Regions from separate parts of the Homo sapiens genome. Here all the other regions are linked to region 4. The links are contacts of gene promoters, found by promoter capture Hi-C in blood cells and fetal thymus (Javierre and others, 2016). All regions are on one chromosome and are shown on one strand. The core of a region is centred on a gene start or on the middle of the fragment in contact, and the rest is flanking DNA. Distances in the headings are between cores, read along the strand shown.

Region 1 (2,811 bases), core at 87-2,586, 290 kb after region 4:
GTTTTGTTTTGTTTTGTTTTTGAGATGGAGTCTCACTCTGTCACCCAAGCTGGAGTGCAGTGGTGTGATCTCAGCTCACTACAACCTCTGTCTCCTGGGTTCGCGCAATCCTCCTGCCTCAGCCCTCCAAGTAGCTGGGATTACAGGCGTGCGCCACCACACCCAGCTAATTTTGTATTTTTTTTTTAGTAGAGACAGGGTTTCGTGGGGTTTCACCATGTTGGCCAGGCTGGTCTTGAACTCCTGGCCTCAAGTGATCCACCTGCCTCGGCCTCCCAAAGTGCTGGGATTACAGGCATGAGCCACCGTGCCCGGCCGCATTTTTTTAATCCATTTGCATTAATCCGGGATCTCCAGAACAGAACCAAACAGATACAGATATAAGAGGCGATTTATTATGGGAATTGGATGACAAAGTTATGGAGGCTGAAAAGTCCCACAATCTGCCATCTGCAAGCTGGAAGACCTGGAAAGCCAATGGTGTAATTCATTCCAAGTCCAAAGACCTGAGGACCAGGTGAGCCAATGGTGTAATGTCTCGGAGTCTGAAGGCCTCCAGGAGCTCTGATGTCTGAGAAGTTGGATGTCCCAGCTCAAGAAAGGAGAGAATTCACCTTTTCTTCACCTTTTTGTTCTATTTGCGCCCTCAGTGGATTCGATGATGGCCACCTATGTTGGATAGGGTGGATCCTTTTACTCAGTCTGATTCAAATACTAACCTCTTCCAGAAACACTCTCACAGACATACCCAGAAATAATTTTCTACCAGCTATCCGGGTATTCCCTGGGCTGGTCAAGTTGACACATGAAATTAACTATCACACTGGTCATGCGTCAATGGACATTTGGGTTGTTTCCGCCTTTTGGCTATTGTGAATAATGCCGCTATGAACACTGGTGTACAGATATCAATTTGAGTTCCTGCTTTCAGTAGTTTTGAGTACTATGAAATTTCTGGATCATGTGTTAATTCTGGTTTAATTCTTTTGAGGAACCGCCATACTGTTTTCCAGAGCGACTGCACCATTTTACATTCCCACCAGCAATTCACAAGTGTGCCAATTTCTCCACGTGTTCTCCACATCTCCATATTTCTCAGCAAACAGCTGTTACCTTATTTTTCTGATAACAGCCATCCTAATGGGTGTGAAGTGGTATCTCTTTGTGTGTTTTTTTTTGTTGTTTTTTTGTTTTGTTTTGTTTTGAGATGGAGTCTCGTTCTGTTGCCCAGGCTGGAGTGCAGTGGCGCGATCTCGGCTCACTGCAAGCTCCGCCTCCCGGGTTCACACCATTCTCCTGCCTCAGCCTCCCGAGTAGCTGGGACTACAGGTGCCCGCCACCATGACCGGCTAATTTTTTGTATTTCTAGTAGAGATGGGGTTTCACCGTGTTAGCCAGGATGGTTTCGATCTCCTGATCTCGTGATCCGCCCGCCTCGGCCTCCCAAAGTGCTGGGATTACTACAGGCGTGAGCCACGGCGCCCGGCCTATTATTAGTTCTTTATATGTTCTAGGTATTAATCCTTATCAGATATGTAATTTGAAATATTTCCTACCATTCTGTGGGTTGATTTTTTACTTCAGTATATTGTATTTGATGTACAAAAGTTTTTAATTTTTATAAGCCTAATTTATTTTTTTCTTTTGTGGTCTGTGCTTTTATGTTGTATCCAAGAAATCACTGCCAAATTCAATGTCATGAATATTATACAACATAAATGATAACATATAAACAATAAAAACGTAAATAATAACATATAAGCAATCAAAAACATGGGGCACTATGTTTTTTTCTGAGTTTATAGTTTTAGGTCCTACATTTAGGTATTTGGTCCCTTTTTAGCTCTTTATTTTATTTATTTTTTTTTTTGAGACAGAGTCTCGCTTTGTCGCCCAGGCTGGAGTACAGTGGCGCGATCTCGGCTCACTGCAAGCTCCACCTCCCAGGTTCACGCCATTCTCCTGCCTCAGCCTCCTGACTAGCTGGGACTACAGGCACCTGCCACCGTGCCCGGCTAATTTTTTTTTGTATTTTTAGTAGAGACAGGGTTTCACCGTTTTAGCCAGGATGGTCTCGATCTCCTGACCTCGTGATCCGCCCGCCTCAGCCTCCCAAAGTGCTGGGATTACAGGCGTGAGCCACCGCGCCCGGCCCCAGTTCTTTATTTTTTTGAGACAGCGTCACACTCTGTCGCTTAGGCTGGAGTGCAGTGGCATGGCTCACTGCTGTGAACTCGAACTCCTGGGCTCAAGCAATCCGTCTCAACCTCCTGAGTAGCTGGGACTACAGGCATGCACCACCATGCCCAGCTAATTTTTTTCTTTTTTTTTTTTTTCTTTTGTAGAGATAGGATCTCACTATGTTGACCAGGCTGGTTTCAAACTCCTGGGCTCAAGTGATCTTCCCGCCTTGGCTTCCCAAAGTGCGGGAATTACTGATGTGAGTCACCAGGTCCAGCCATTTGAACCATTTTGAGTTAATTTTTGTATATAGTGTTAGGTAAGGGTCAACTTCATTCTTTTGCATGTGGATACCCAATTTTCCCAAAACCATTTGTTGAAAAGATTGTCCTTTCCCCCAGTGAATGGTCTTGGCGCCCTTGTTGAAAATCATTCAGCCGTATATGGAAAGGTTTTATTTTTATGGGCTCCCTATTCTGTACAATTGGTCATATGTCTGTCTTTATTTTTTTTGGAGACAGAGTTTCACTCTTGTTGCTCAGGCTGGAGTGTAATGGCTCAATCTCGGCTCACTGCAATCTCCACCTCCCGGGTTCAAGCGATTCTCCTGCCTCAGCCTCCCAAGTAGCT
Region 2 (2,700 bases), core at 93-2,592, 360 kb after region 4:
GAAGCCCAGAATGGGAGGTGAGTACCTGAGTGCCCCCCAGACCCAGCATCATTTGCTTTCCCCAAGTCCTGAAATTCCTAAAGCACCCCTCCTTGCCCTCCCATCACCAGGAGAAGGTCCCGCATGGACGAAGCCACATGGTACCTGGATTCAGATGACTCATCCCCCTTAGGATCTCCTTCCACACCCCCAGCACTCAATGGTGAGTGGCCTTCCTCCCCCGGCAGGATCTGGCTGAGCTCCTTCCGTGGGCACCTTGGGGAGGCCACAATAGGCTAGTAGGCAAAGCAGGAGTCCTGCCCTGGTTGCTCTCATTCTAGAGACTAGGAAACCAAGGCTGAGACAAGACAGAGCCGATCCTGGAACCCAGGTCTGACCTACAGGCCCACGATCAAGCGGCATACAGCCCAGGCCTCGGCTCGGGGCCCAGAGTCTCATCCCCTTGCTCAGACCTGGCCTGCAAGAAGCCTCTTCCCTGGCCCCATGGCAGCCCCTGTGCCTTTAGCAGGCTCCAGGGAGAAAAGAAAGACAGGAAGCCCACCTGGCATTTGGTACCCAAGGGAAGCTGGACCCAGATGGGGGAAGGAATCAGCCTGTGTGGGGTGGAGCCAAACAAGTGTCAGCCACACTGTGCTTCTCAGAGCCCCTTCTGGGAGCCTGTAGGTGAAGAAGAGAATGAGAAGGCCGAGCAGGCAGGATCCAGGACCCATTCTCACCACATCCAGGATAGCTCGGGGCCTTTCTGTTCTCCATGACGGTAACTGCCCTACTGTGCCAGGCATTCCCTCCAAGCATTGATGAAGAGGGGCTACTATTACCCCATTTTGCAGATAAGGAAACTGAGGCTCTGAGAGGTGAAGTAACCTACCTCAAACCCCCAGCTGAGGATTTGAACCCAGAGAGGCTTCAGCTCCAATGCTCTCGTAGTGAGCTCAGAAGCTTTCACTTGAAGAAAGGGCTTCTCACGTATAGACTGCTTAGGAAGCCAGAGGGTCAGGCAGAAGGCAGGGCTCCAGCATTGCAGGGAGGAGGGCTCACTCAGCTCAACACTGCCCAGCTCTGAGTGAGGCCAGAGAGTTATGGCCTCCCTTGCCTGTGGGTCCCTGTGCCAACCTAGGGACCATCCTCAGAGCCCCCACACCTGCTGCTCACAGCCAGAATGTAGGACCCGCTTAGCTGCTCTCAGAAGAGTCCTGTTCAGCAAGCCGTTTAAACTCACTCCTCCCATCCCACCCAGCCCATCGCCTCTTCCATTCCCTGAGCTACACTTGATAGTTGTAACAACAGCTAACCTTTGTTGGTTCTCTTCTATGTGCCAAGCAGTTCTGTGAGGGGAGTAGTAGTATTGGCCTGCATTTTACAACAGAGAAAACTGAGGCACAGAGAGATTAAGTGGTTTGATGTAAGGCAACCAGTAGAGCAGGGATTTGATCTGCTCTTGCCTGTCTGACCACAGAGGCAGAGCCCTGGGCCTCCATCTGCCCCGCCATTTGCTACTCCAGCAGCTGCACTGCCCCCAGCATCTGTCCTGCAGGGACTGAACTGAGAGCTGGAAGGCCAAGGAGGCTTCTTGAATTCACTTGCTCTAAATTGTACCAGGCCAGATGGGCCAAAGGAGAACTTGAGAGCCTGTCAACCCAGGTGTGTAGGCTGAAGCAGGTCCTGACTGTTCCACAGAACTCTCTGGCCCTCAGCTCCCAGAAGCAGGGGCACAAGGGGCCTGGGCCCCATCGTTCTCAAGCTTGCCCCATGTTTTTTTATCCAAAGAATTTGTTAATTATTTATGAAGAGAAACTACTTATTAGCCCATATATTCATGAATAGTTCAGATCAGTGACAAACTTCTAAGTAATTCAACCCAAAGAAATTCTTCATATTCCAAAATCACTTTGCATTCTGAGAGATAGCAGCCTTCCTCATCTCCTCGAAGTATTTCATGGCATCATAACTTCTGTAGACATCTGTGCCCATAGAAATCTGAAATGCCTTCTTTCTTGGTCCAGCCCCTGCAAACTGAGAGAGCCGCAGCCCCCAGGGATACAGTGAATGCTCCCACAATATGAAATTGCAGATGTGTGGCCAGAAGGCCACATGTCTGAGGTTTCATGAAAGCACTGGAAACCATGGTAGTTACTGTTCTTGATAAGTATGTCGGCCTCAACACCAGTGCCCTTCCTGGCTGATGAAGAAATGGATTGCCACTTGCCCTGAAAGGATGTCAGCTGCCCAGCTCAGTGGCTGGCTGAGCATCTGGTTCCCCTAGCCCAATCCCACACTCCACGCATCATCTGGGTCCATGAAAGTACATGACATTGACCTCACAGCCACCCCCCGAAACCCAGCTAAGAATCAAATAATGGGGCTTCACAGAGGTCCCAGACCCTGTGAGATGGTCCCCGGCATAAGCCATACCACTGGAGAGTCACACACACCCTCACCCTGTCCCCAGTGGGCTGTTCTGGTCCCTGGAGAGCTGGCTGCAAGGAGTGGCACATTGGCAGGGTGCACTCAGCTACGCTGATAGCAACTGCCCTGTGAAGCTTGTTGCCTTAGAGCCAATAACTACGTGGCTGTGTCCTCCCTGTGAGACCTCACGGAAGCAGTTTCGCCTCTATCTATCTATCTTTGGGTCAAGAATAGTCACGCAGCTTTCTCCTAAACAACAGAGTTGCTAACTCTTGCTGCCAGGAAGCTTAGAGG
Region 3 (2,974 bases), core at 475-2,974, 320 kb after region 4:
TTGGGCTGAGGTTCAAGGTCTCACAGGATGCAAGATTGAGACACCCAAAGCCCCAGGGACCTGCTAAGTGCGGAAACGTGACGCCAGAGGCAGGTGCAAATGGTGGTGTGAGAACTTGAGGGAAGCCACACCCAGGCAAGCCCTGGATGGAGTAGGCAGTGAGGACAGGGAGCTGGGGAACCTCCACTGGGGGTACAGGCATCTAATGGTGGGTCTTCATGCAGCATCCAGCAACATCATGCGGGGCTGGGCCGGAGGGGGGTGGAGGAGGGGCTCCACACACCCTTCGTCTGGGGCCTCCAGAACCAAGCAAGAGTCGGCTCCCCAGCCCAGGTGCTTCTACCTTGATTTCTCCTGAATAAACTCCCATGCTGACCTTGAGCCTCTGTTTTCTCATCTCTAAAATGGGGTTAACTGGCCGGGTGCGGTGGCTGTGGCCTGTAATCCCAGCACTTTGGGAGGCCAAGGCGGGGGGATCACCTGAGGTCAGGAGTTCAAGACCAGCCTAGCTAACATGGTGAAACCCTGTCTCTACTAAAAACATAAAAATTAGCCGGGTGTGGTGGTGCGCACCTGTAGTCCCAGCCACTCAGGAGGCTGAGGCAGGAGAATCGCTTAAACCTGGGAGGCAGAGGTTGCAGTGAGCCGAGATCGCGCCACTGAACTCCAGCCTGCGGGACAGAGTGAGACTGTCTCCAAAAAAACAAAGAAAAAAATTGGGTTTAATTATTTCTGTCCCCTCCCAAGGCTGCTGAGAGACTGAGAAGAATGAGGTGAGTGTCGCTAGCTATGTGTGTGTGTGACGGGTGTAGCCCCTGGCTCCATGAGCCAAGCTCTGGGCACATTCAGCGCTCGGGCCTGGGCTATAGTGTGTGAAGGAGTAGGAGGGCATGAGGGAGGGGGTCTGTGCAAGCCCCGCTCCTTGTGGGCTGAGCTCTGCACGCTTGGAAGTGAGATCTGTGCATGTGTGCACCCAGCCTGTGCGCTGCCTCTTGCTGTGGCCCAGTGCCAGGCTCTGGCGCTGCCTTGAGGGGTGTTCTCGGGCTCTGCCCCCCACCCTGAAGCTTCACACAGGGTCCATTGAGGCTAGGACATTCCTCCGGGCCTGTGTCACTAGGGGTGGGGGGAAAGGGCCGGCCCCGCCCCCACAGATCCGGAAGGCCTGGCTGCCCCAGGAGGAGGAGCTGGCCACTTCCCAGCACATCTGGAGGTCATGACCCCATTTCGGCTGCCAGGGGGCGCGACAGATGTTTCCTCCCAGGCCAGGCCAGGGACTGGGGTGGAGGCCGCCTAAGAAGAAGAGGAGCCTCAGAATAAGGGGGAGCCCCGCACACACTTGCAGTGTTGAGGGGGAGGGGGTCACAGTGCCGCCACCAGGAGTCAGGAGCCGCCGCTTCCACTCACCGGCTGGCTGGCCAGGCTAAGCCGTCACACAGAGAGAGTAGGAACGGCTGGTCAGAGACAGGGGGCTGGACATATTGACTCGGGACTGAGCTGGAGCCCGGAGGGAAGTTGGGAGGGTGCTGGCGGCGAACGTGGCGAGGACCCCACTCCCATACACATCACCCGGGCCCACGGCTAGGCCACCTCTCCCCTGTCGGGCCCGACAGTAGTGCCTCCCGTCCCCTGCTCCCGCCAGTACCTCTGGGGCTCCCGCCCAGCCGCCGCCGCCCGCGCTGGGGTCCCGCTGCCGCTCTCCCGCTACCGCTCCCGGCGCCGGCTCCGCCTGGGGGCGGGGCCATGCTGGGAGGCGGGGCCATGCCGGGAGGCGGGGCCGGCCGGGAGCTGTCTGCGGCGGGAAGCGCAGCAGCGGGGATTCCAGGCCTGGCGGAGGTCAGCACCGAGCAGTGCTCATTCTAAGGCCATTTCCTCTCCTGAGAAACTTGTGCCTGCCTTCCAGACCAACCGGGAGGGCTAGCGGAGGCCACCTAGCGTCCAGCTCCCGGCCAGCAGGTGCTCAAGAGTCTGCCACTATTTTATGGAGCACTTGCTAAGCACTGGGCCCTGGGCAACCATTCCACTAGCGCGCTCTCATTTATTCTAAAAACACCTTAGATAGGTGTCATCTCTTTACGCCCTGGAGCAGCTGAGGTGCAGAGAAAGGCTTTGGCCAAGAACAAGCCTGATAAATGTAGGAGCCACCAGACCTGGAAGTCTGACCATATGGTGGGAAATGGCAGACAATACCCTTCAGATAAAGGCTTGAAAAGGGAGCAGCCATGCGGTGAAGAGGACCCGGTTCTACCTGAACCCCACCTTGGTCTGCCCTTGATCTCTACTAGACTTCAGCCCCACATCCTTCACCCCTCTGCGTGCTTGTCCATCCCAACTTAGCCGCCTGTACTATCATGTACCCATTCCCAGGTAGAAAAAGAAACTGCCAACCAAAATCAAAAATAGTGTTATTAATTCTGATGTCTCCGAAGCACAAAAAAAAAAAAAAAAAAGAAAAGAAAAAAAAGGAAAGAAAGAAACCACCCTTCCCACAATTCAGGCCCCAGGTCCAGGCCAAGGGGGCCACACCTGCAGGCAGTGCAGGCCCAGGGGCTGAGGTGGTCCTGGCCACAGGCTCCAAGTGGGACCAGCCCATGGTTTGGCTCTTAGGGCCTGGCTGGGAGGCTGACTGCCTCCATCTGGGGAGCCCAGGCCCTGGACTGGGGATGAGAGAGATCAGGGGTCAAGGTCAGAGGTCTGGGTCACTCAGTTTTGGTACTCTGGCCAAGGCAGCCAAAGGTCAGGGTTCAGACATGTAGGCCAAAGCCACTCAGTTCTGTGGTCCAGCAGAGAGGCAGCAGAGCAGGTCCGTTACTGAATCCTAGGAGGTGGTCCAGTGGGCGCCAGGTAGCTCAGTACTGGTGTTCCAGCAGGGGCTGGGCTGCCGGGCTCTCACGCTCCTCAATAGGGGCAGGCCAGTCGCCCAGGGCACCCATAGGTGTGCCACTCTCAGGGGCACTGCTGTCCAAGCAAGGAATGT
Region 4 (2,943 bases), core at 335-2,834:
TTTTGCTTGATCTCCTGTGGTATGTGGGACTGCTGATCGCTCCCTCCTTCTAACAATACTCTCTTCCCAAAGTTCCCATGACACAAAGGTTTTCCTGCCTTTTTGGTTACTCTGTCTCCTTTTTTTGGTAACATCTTTCTCTGCCTACTACTAACATAAGGGCATTTCTCAGGTTCTAGTCCTGACCCCCTCTTCTCATGTCACAGTCTTTCAGGGGCTTCACTGGCCACCCAGATACTGACTCCCAATGGCTTTATCCAGTCCAAACTCTGGATTTCCCCATTACCATCAACCTTGACAACCCCAAAAGTGAACTATCTCCCCCCACCCCCGCTCCAAATCTGCTTCTCTTCCCTACTCCTCAATTTCAGTAGAAATGACACCCACTACCTATCTGGCTGCTCAAGCCAAAATTCAAGGAGTCATCCTCCATTCCTTCTTCCCACCCTCATACAAGTGCTGAGTTCTGTTCATTCCTCCTCCAAAACACCTCTCCAACCTGTCCACTTCTCTCAATCCCACTGCTGCTGCCTTGGTGCAGGCCACCATCAGCCCTCCCCTGGCCTATAGCCCTCCTGGTTTCCTGGTCTCCAGTCCTGACTACCTTTGACTAAATTCTCAATCCAGTGATGTTTACAAAATACGGATCTGAGCAACTCACTCCTCAACTCACATCCATGGCTCCCTACTATCCTCAAGACAATCTACAGTTCTTAACAGAGACTACAGTACAGGGTCCTTTGTGTTCACATCCCTGTCTATCTTACTCCCTCATTTCTCTACCATGCGCCCTACACGATTCGTCCAATACCAGGTTTTTCTTGCCTCTGTATATGCTGACACTACTTCATTCACTCATTCAACATATTTATTGAGAATCTGATTGTACCAGACAACTGAGGAAAACAGAAGCCCTCTGTCCTCAAGCAGCTGAGTGGAGAAAGTCAACCTCTAATCCTAAACAACCGTAGAAAGACTTTTTTCTTTTTGAGACAGAGTCTCGCTTTGTTGCCCAGGCTGGAGTACACTGGCGGGACCGCAGCTCACTGCAGCCTCTAACTCCTGGGCTCAAGGGATCCCGTAGAAAGACTATTTAATAGAGCTGGTAAACAGCTTGGGGGTTTCCTGGCCTGAAGAGCTTCGCTGACACTGCGCGCACACCCAGACCCACGCGTTCCGGGACCCCCGCCCGACCCGCCCCCTGCGCAGGCCCCGCCTCCTCACCGGCCTCGTAGCCGTCATCGCGCTTCTCCCGCTTCACGCGCCGCTCGGAGGGCTCTGCCTGGCTGCGCTCCCGCCCGTGCGTGCTGCTCCGGGCCTCAGCTTCGGCCCCGCGCCGCCCGCTCCCGCGCTCGCCCCCACGTTCCCGGCTCCGCTTCCGTCGTTCGCCACCGCTACCGCCACTGCCGCCACTCCGGTGCTTGTGTTTTTTGTGTTCCCGGTGCCGCGGCGGCTGCTCGGTGGCACCCCCGGTGCCGGCCGCCGCCGTCGTCCCGGCCGCCTCCTTCTCTCCGCGATGCTTCTTGGACGACCCCATAGTGGCACGTCCACTCCGAGCCCGGCTGCCGCCGAGCCCAGACAACGCAAAATGGGAATACTTCCGGGTCGCTCGGCAGCCGCTGTCGTGTTGCCGGAAACTAAGAGCGGCTGCTTCCGTCGCTCGCCTTGGAGCCTGCCCCAGAGGCTCATGGGAAGGCCGGGATCAGCGCTCGACTGCACATTCGCGCCGTCTCGGGTCGGGTGGGTTCTTTGAGCGAGTGGTCCCATTGCGCATGCGCTCCTCAAGGGAAGCGGAATTAACCCGGAGGTGGGATCCCAGAACTGGAAGGACTTAGAGCCCATTAAGTCAGTGTCTTCGTGGCTTTAAGTTCCTCCCCGGCCTCCCTGCGCTTGCACTTCACCGGCAACGGGGTGTTCACTACCTCACGGTCTTTCCGTAGACACCTCCCTCCTACAATGGGCGCTCGCTTAGTGGACTCCTAGGGTCGTGGCTCCAACGGGTGTTGTTTTCCCGAGATCTCCAATTCCACAGCCCAGCTTCAGACCCGCTATAACCAGTATCGTCAGGGAACGCTTCCTTCCCACGTTCCCTGTTTTGTTTTGTTTTGTTTTTTCCCTTGAGATAGGATCTCACTCTGTTGCTCAGGCTGGAGTGCAGTGGCGTGATCACAGCGCACTGCAGCCTCGACCTCCTGGGCTCAAGTGATCCTCCCACCTCAGCCTTCCCAGTAGCTGGGACTACGAGAGTACGCTACCACGCCCCTTTAATTTTTGTATTTTTTTGTAGATGGTTGGTGGGGAGCGGGGGTAGGGGGTGGGGTCACTATGTTGGCCAGGCTGGTCTCGAACTCCTGAGCTCAGGCTATACACCCGCCTTGGCCTCCCAAAGTGCTGAGATTACAGGCATGCGCCACTGCGCCTGGCCCTGGATTGGATTTTTAAAACCTGGCCCCGTGAACTGTTAAGATTGTTTAGGAGCTCCACATGGGCGTCAGTGTATCCCTGGAACCCCTGAAATTGAATGCAAAATGTGGCACATCTGTGTGTATGAGTTTTTTTCTTGAGGAGACCAGCCCTAACTTAAAACTATTGGGACTTAAAACCCCAGTGCAGGCCGGGCGCGGTGGCTCACGCCTGTAATCCCAGCACTTTGGGAGGCCAAGGCAGGCGAATCACGAGGTCAAGAGATCGAGACCATCCTGGCCTACATGGTAAAACCCCGTCTCTACTAAAAATACAAAAATTAGCTGGGTGTGGTGGCGCACACCTGTAGTCCCAGCTACTCAGGAGGCTGAGGCAGGAGAATCGCTTGAACCTGGGAGGCAGAGGTTGCAGTGAGTTGAGATCACACCATTGCACTCCGGCCTGGTGACAGAGCGAGACTCTGTCTTAAAAAAAAAAAAAAAAAGCGCAGTGCACACAATCCCAATCTCTCCTGAAACC
Region 5 (3,077 bases), core at 578-3,077, 320 kb before region 4:
TTCCCTAGCCTGTGGCCCCCAGCTCCCTCCAGTCCTTAGAACCCTAGCCCTCCTGCCCCTACCCCACAGAAAGAAAAATAGAGTAACTCGGGGTGCGGGGGAGAGGGGGAAAGACAAAGCAACCAAGACCCAGAGAGAGAGCAGAGCCAGGCCAAGGAGTGACAGGGCTGGAGCTGGGGTGTGTGCTGAGGTGCCTTTGGGGGCTCACTCTTCACACAGTAGGGGTTCAGTCTATGGATTCCCGATGTCAAAGAGCAAGGTGGCAGGGGATGGCAAAGGGAGCGCAGGGGGAACCATGGAGCAGGCGGCAGGTCCCAGGAAGAGAAAGGAGAGAGGAAGTGGAGAGCCCGGGAAAGAAGCAGGTGAGGCACCGGGAGGAAGGAGGGAAGGGCTATGGGAAATGGGATTGAGGGAGGGATAAGAGGACCCCTGAAAGGGAATGACAATCAGGGAGGTGTGCGCGGGAGGTGTGAGCAGAGGATGCTGAGCTGAGCCAGCCAGGGCCGAGCTGGGCAGGCTGTTACAGAAACAGGCACGGGGTTTGGGTGGGGGTGGGGACGGAGGGCAGTAAAGTGGGGCCAGGGGCCCCCAACAACCAGCTGGAGGCTGATTGATAGTTCTGTAGTGAGGGGACGGGAGCCAGGCAGAGGAGGCCCTGGAGGAGAGGAGCGGGAGGGGAGGAGGAGGGAGCCTGGGGGAAGCGATGGGTCGGATGCAGGATGAGGAATGGACATTTTGAAGAACCAGGTGTGAGGCTAGGCCAGGGCGAGGGACAGACCAAGGGGTATGTGAGAGACAAAGGGGAAGGGGGACAGGAAGAGGAGGGAAGCTGGAAAATGGAGAGGAAACCTGGGGGGCTGGGAAGCCCCCAACAGGAGGGGTAGGGAAACCCAAGGTGAGCCGGTGGTGGGGGCTAGGTCTCTGGGGGCTGATGAGAGCCAACTGCTGCTTGGTCAGGGAGGGGGCTGGGAAGGCAAAGGGTTAATGGACTCTGAGATCTGTGGGTCCTGTAAACAGATGCAGTTGCCATAGCAACCAGCTCCATCACTCTGGCTGGAAAAACCCACAAAGGCGGGGGGGGGGGGGCAGCAGACAGACAAACTGCCCGACGGACTAATGGAGGCGGCTGGATGGTGGTGGGGGGGGACATAGAAGATAAAGCAACAAAAATGCCAGAATTCCACCCCCCACCTCACGGGCTGCATGGGAGCAGAGGACGAGGGCAGAGGAGGGGGTCAGAGACCGACTGACATACACACAGACAGGCGGGGGCGGCGGAGGAAGGGGGGCCCCGGGAAGAAAGCCGACCACGGGGGGTGTTAATGGGGGCGAAGCCGACAAGCCGACGGCTGGGGGATAGCAAGTTTCCCCTGGGCTCTGAGACCACCCGCCCTGGGTCCCTCCAGCTCCGCGTGGCCCCTGCCCCCCACCCCGCCCCCAGCCCCAGCCCCAGCCCGGCCTTACGTGCCAGATGACAAAGAAGATGAGGGAGGCGCACAGCACCAGGGTGAGCATGTAGCAGAACGCGGCGAAGGTGAACGCCATGGCCCCCGCGCCGGGCGGCGGCCCGGGGGGCGCCAGCGCGGGGCCCGGGCGCAAGGGGACGCCCCCCGGCCCGCGCTTAGGGCCGGCCGGGCATGGCCCGTGGGGCTCGGGGGACGTGGGTGATGCGGCCGGGACCGGGACCGCGGGGCCGTGGGGGGCGCGGGGCGCGGGCCGGTGGGCTCGGGGGGCGCGTCCGCTGCCGGCTGCCCGGGCCCCGATCGCTCATCCTGCGATCCCTCGCCCGCGGCTCCCTCGCTCTCCAGCCCGCGAAGCCGGCGGGGCGGAGCCGGGGGCGGGGCCGCCGCGCGAGCGGCCTCGGGCGGGGCTGGGTCTCCGCGGGCCCCTCGTCTGCCCGCCCGGCTCGGGCGCCACCCCCAGCCCCGACAAGCCCGCGGCCGTTCACCCTCCGGACAGCGTAGACGCGGCCGCCCCCGGCACCCCGCACCCCTCGGCACTCCAGCCACCGGCACAGCCGCACTCGGCCCCCTCGGGCGGGCGCTCAGGGCAAAGGCTGAAGTGCGAGGCACTTGTCACTGTCGGAGACGGCAGAAGCACCTGGCTGGGACACACAATGACGCCAGGACAGGGGCTGAATGGGAGCAGTGGGGTTTTGGGGGGCGCTGAAGGAGGTTGGGCCAGGTGCAGTGGGGGCCCTCTCAGCGGCTGCGCGACCCCACACCTCTGCCGTGTGCCCCGCGGGAGTTGGCGGCGGCACGCCAGGTATGAGCTGATGGCCGCCTGCCTCTTTCCCTGACAGAACGGTGCTGGGCCCTTGGGGACAGACCACAGAAGCACAAGCAGCTTTCCTGGCCTCAGGAAACGGGGTCAAGGGCTTTTGCCAGCAGCCTTAGGACACAGAAACCAAGCCAGGACCCCCGTGCACCCCACCAAGCCCAGGGTTCCAGTTCCATCCCCCCACCCCAAGGCTGGGCTTAGACCACAGACCACACTTGGCCACCACAACTTCCTTGCAAAAACCCTCAGCTCACCCGAGGGCCAATGGAAATTTATTAATTTTTTTTGTCCTTTTCCATCTTTCCCCAAGTGGCTTTTCCTTGCAAAATGCCTGACATGACACCAGAGGGGAACCTGGGAGCGGGGGGCACCCCAAGGGGGCAGCCCAGGGACTTAAATACAAGCTGGAGGGCAGGGCACAGGTGGGACAGGCAAGAGACAGCACGAGGGACATGGCTTCTCAGGGAGACCAAAGACTTGCTTTCTTGCAGGAAGCAGCTGTGCCAGAGGGCAGGGGACTAGGATCCTGGGTGCAGAGTGGGTGAGCAGAGAGGCCCCCAATCCTGGATGGAACCCACATTCCCCAGAGAAGTAGCGGCAGGGGATGAGGGCCTTCCCTGGTGGGCTCCAGAGACGGAGTGGGGAGTGAGCCAGATGTGCTACCTTGGGGAAAGGGAGGAGGTGCTAGCAGAGTGAGGGTTAAGGCTGGTGCCCAGCCTCTGGCACGGTGGGCCTTCCGCCTCCGCCTGACATGGGGACAAAGGGGCACGGTGGGCAGGCAGCGCATGGGTCTGTCT

Evidence for each region. The method cuts DNA at HindIII sites, captures the fragments that hold promoters and counts their contacts. A CHiCAGO score of 5 or more calls a contact.
Region 1: a contact is called between a fragment that was not itself captured here and the fragment with the promoter of SART1 in region 4, in 1 of 17 cell types (erythroblasts). The highest score is 5.5, in erythroblasts.
Region 2: a contact is called between a fragment that was not itself captured here and the fragment with the promoter of SART1 in region 4, in 1 of 17 cell types (erythroblasts). The highest score is 6.9, in erythroblasts.
Region 3: the fragment with the promoter of SIPA1 here is called in contact with the fragment with the promoter of SART1 in region 4 in 8 of 17 cell types (M1 macrophages, endothelial precursors, erythroblasts and 5 more); the score reaches 11.8 in M1 macrophages.
Region 5: a contact is called between the fragment with the promoter of CNIH2 here and the fragment with the promoter of SART1 in region 4, in 1 of 17 cell types (total B cells). The highest score is 5.7, in total B cells.

What each region holds. Positions count from the first base shown.
Region 1 is chr11:65,669,281-65,672,091 of GRCh38, reverse strand. RELA-DT (RELA divergent transcript) reads right to left here. Exons shown (of 4, transcript NR_183625.1): 4 at 374-669. Among named protein-coding and RNA genes, the nearest start is that of RELA-DT, 7.7 kb to the right of the region's middle. The HindIII fragment of the contact is 9,453 bases long and covers 1-2,811 here.
Region 2 is chr11:65,603,263-65,605,962 of GRCh38, reverse strand. It overlaps MAP3K11 (mitogen-activated protein kinase kinase kinase 11), which reads left to right. Exons shown (of 10, transcript NM_002419.4): 7 at 1-17; 8 at 111-202. Among named protein-coding and RNA genes, the nearest start is that of KCNK7, 8.8 kb to the right of the region's middle. The HindIII fragment of the contact is 802 bases long and covers 942-1,743 here.
Region 3 is chr11:65,636,851-65,639,824 of GRCh38, reverse strand. It overlaps SIPA1 (signal-induced proliferation-associated 1), which reads right to left and starts at 1,724. Exons shown (of 16, transcript NM_006747.4): 1 at 1,643-1,724. PCNX3 (pecanex 3) reads right to left here. Exons shown (of 35, transcript NM_032223.4): 35 at 2,386-2,974. The coding sequence ends at 2,847. RefSeq lists enhancers at 1,092-1,161, 2,113-2,903 and a silencer at 1,512-1,881. The HindIII fragment of the contact is 3,649 bases long and covers 1,067-2,974 here.
Region 4 is chr11:65,960,375-65,963,317 of GRCh38, reverse strand. It overlaps SART1 (spliceosome associated factor 1, recruiter of U4/U6.U5 tri-snRNP), which reads right to left and starts at 1,584. Exons shown (of 20, transcript NM_005146.5): 1 at 1,225-1,584. The coding sequence starts at 1,537. RefSeq lists an enhancer at 939-1,726. The HindIII fragment of the contact is 10,638 bases long and covers 1-2,943 here.
Region 5 is chr11:66,276,925-66,280,001 of GRCh38, reverse strand. It overlaps CNIH2 (cornichon family AMPA receptor auxiliary protein 2), which reads right to left and starts at 1,827. Exons shown (of 6, transcript NM_182553.3): 1 at 1,465-1,827. The coding sequence starts at 1,545. RAB1B (RAB1B, member RAS oncogene family) reads right to left here. Exons shown (of 6, transcript NM_030981.3): 6 at 2,510-3,077. It overlaps LOC107984340 (a long non-coding RNA gene), which reads left to right and starts at 1,477. Exons shown (of 2, transcript XR_001748274.1): 1 at 1,477-1,507. RefSeq lists a silencer at 1,722-2,051. The HindIII fragment of the contact is 7,021 bases long and covers 1-3,077 here.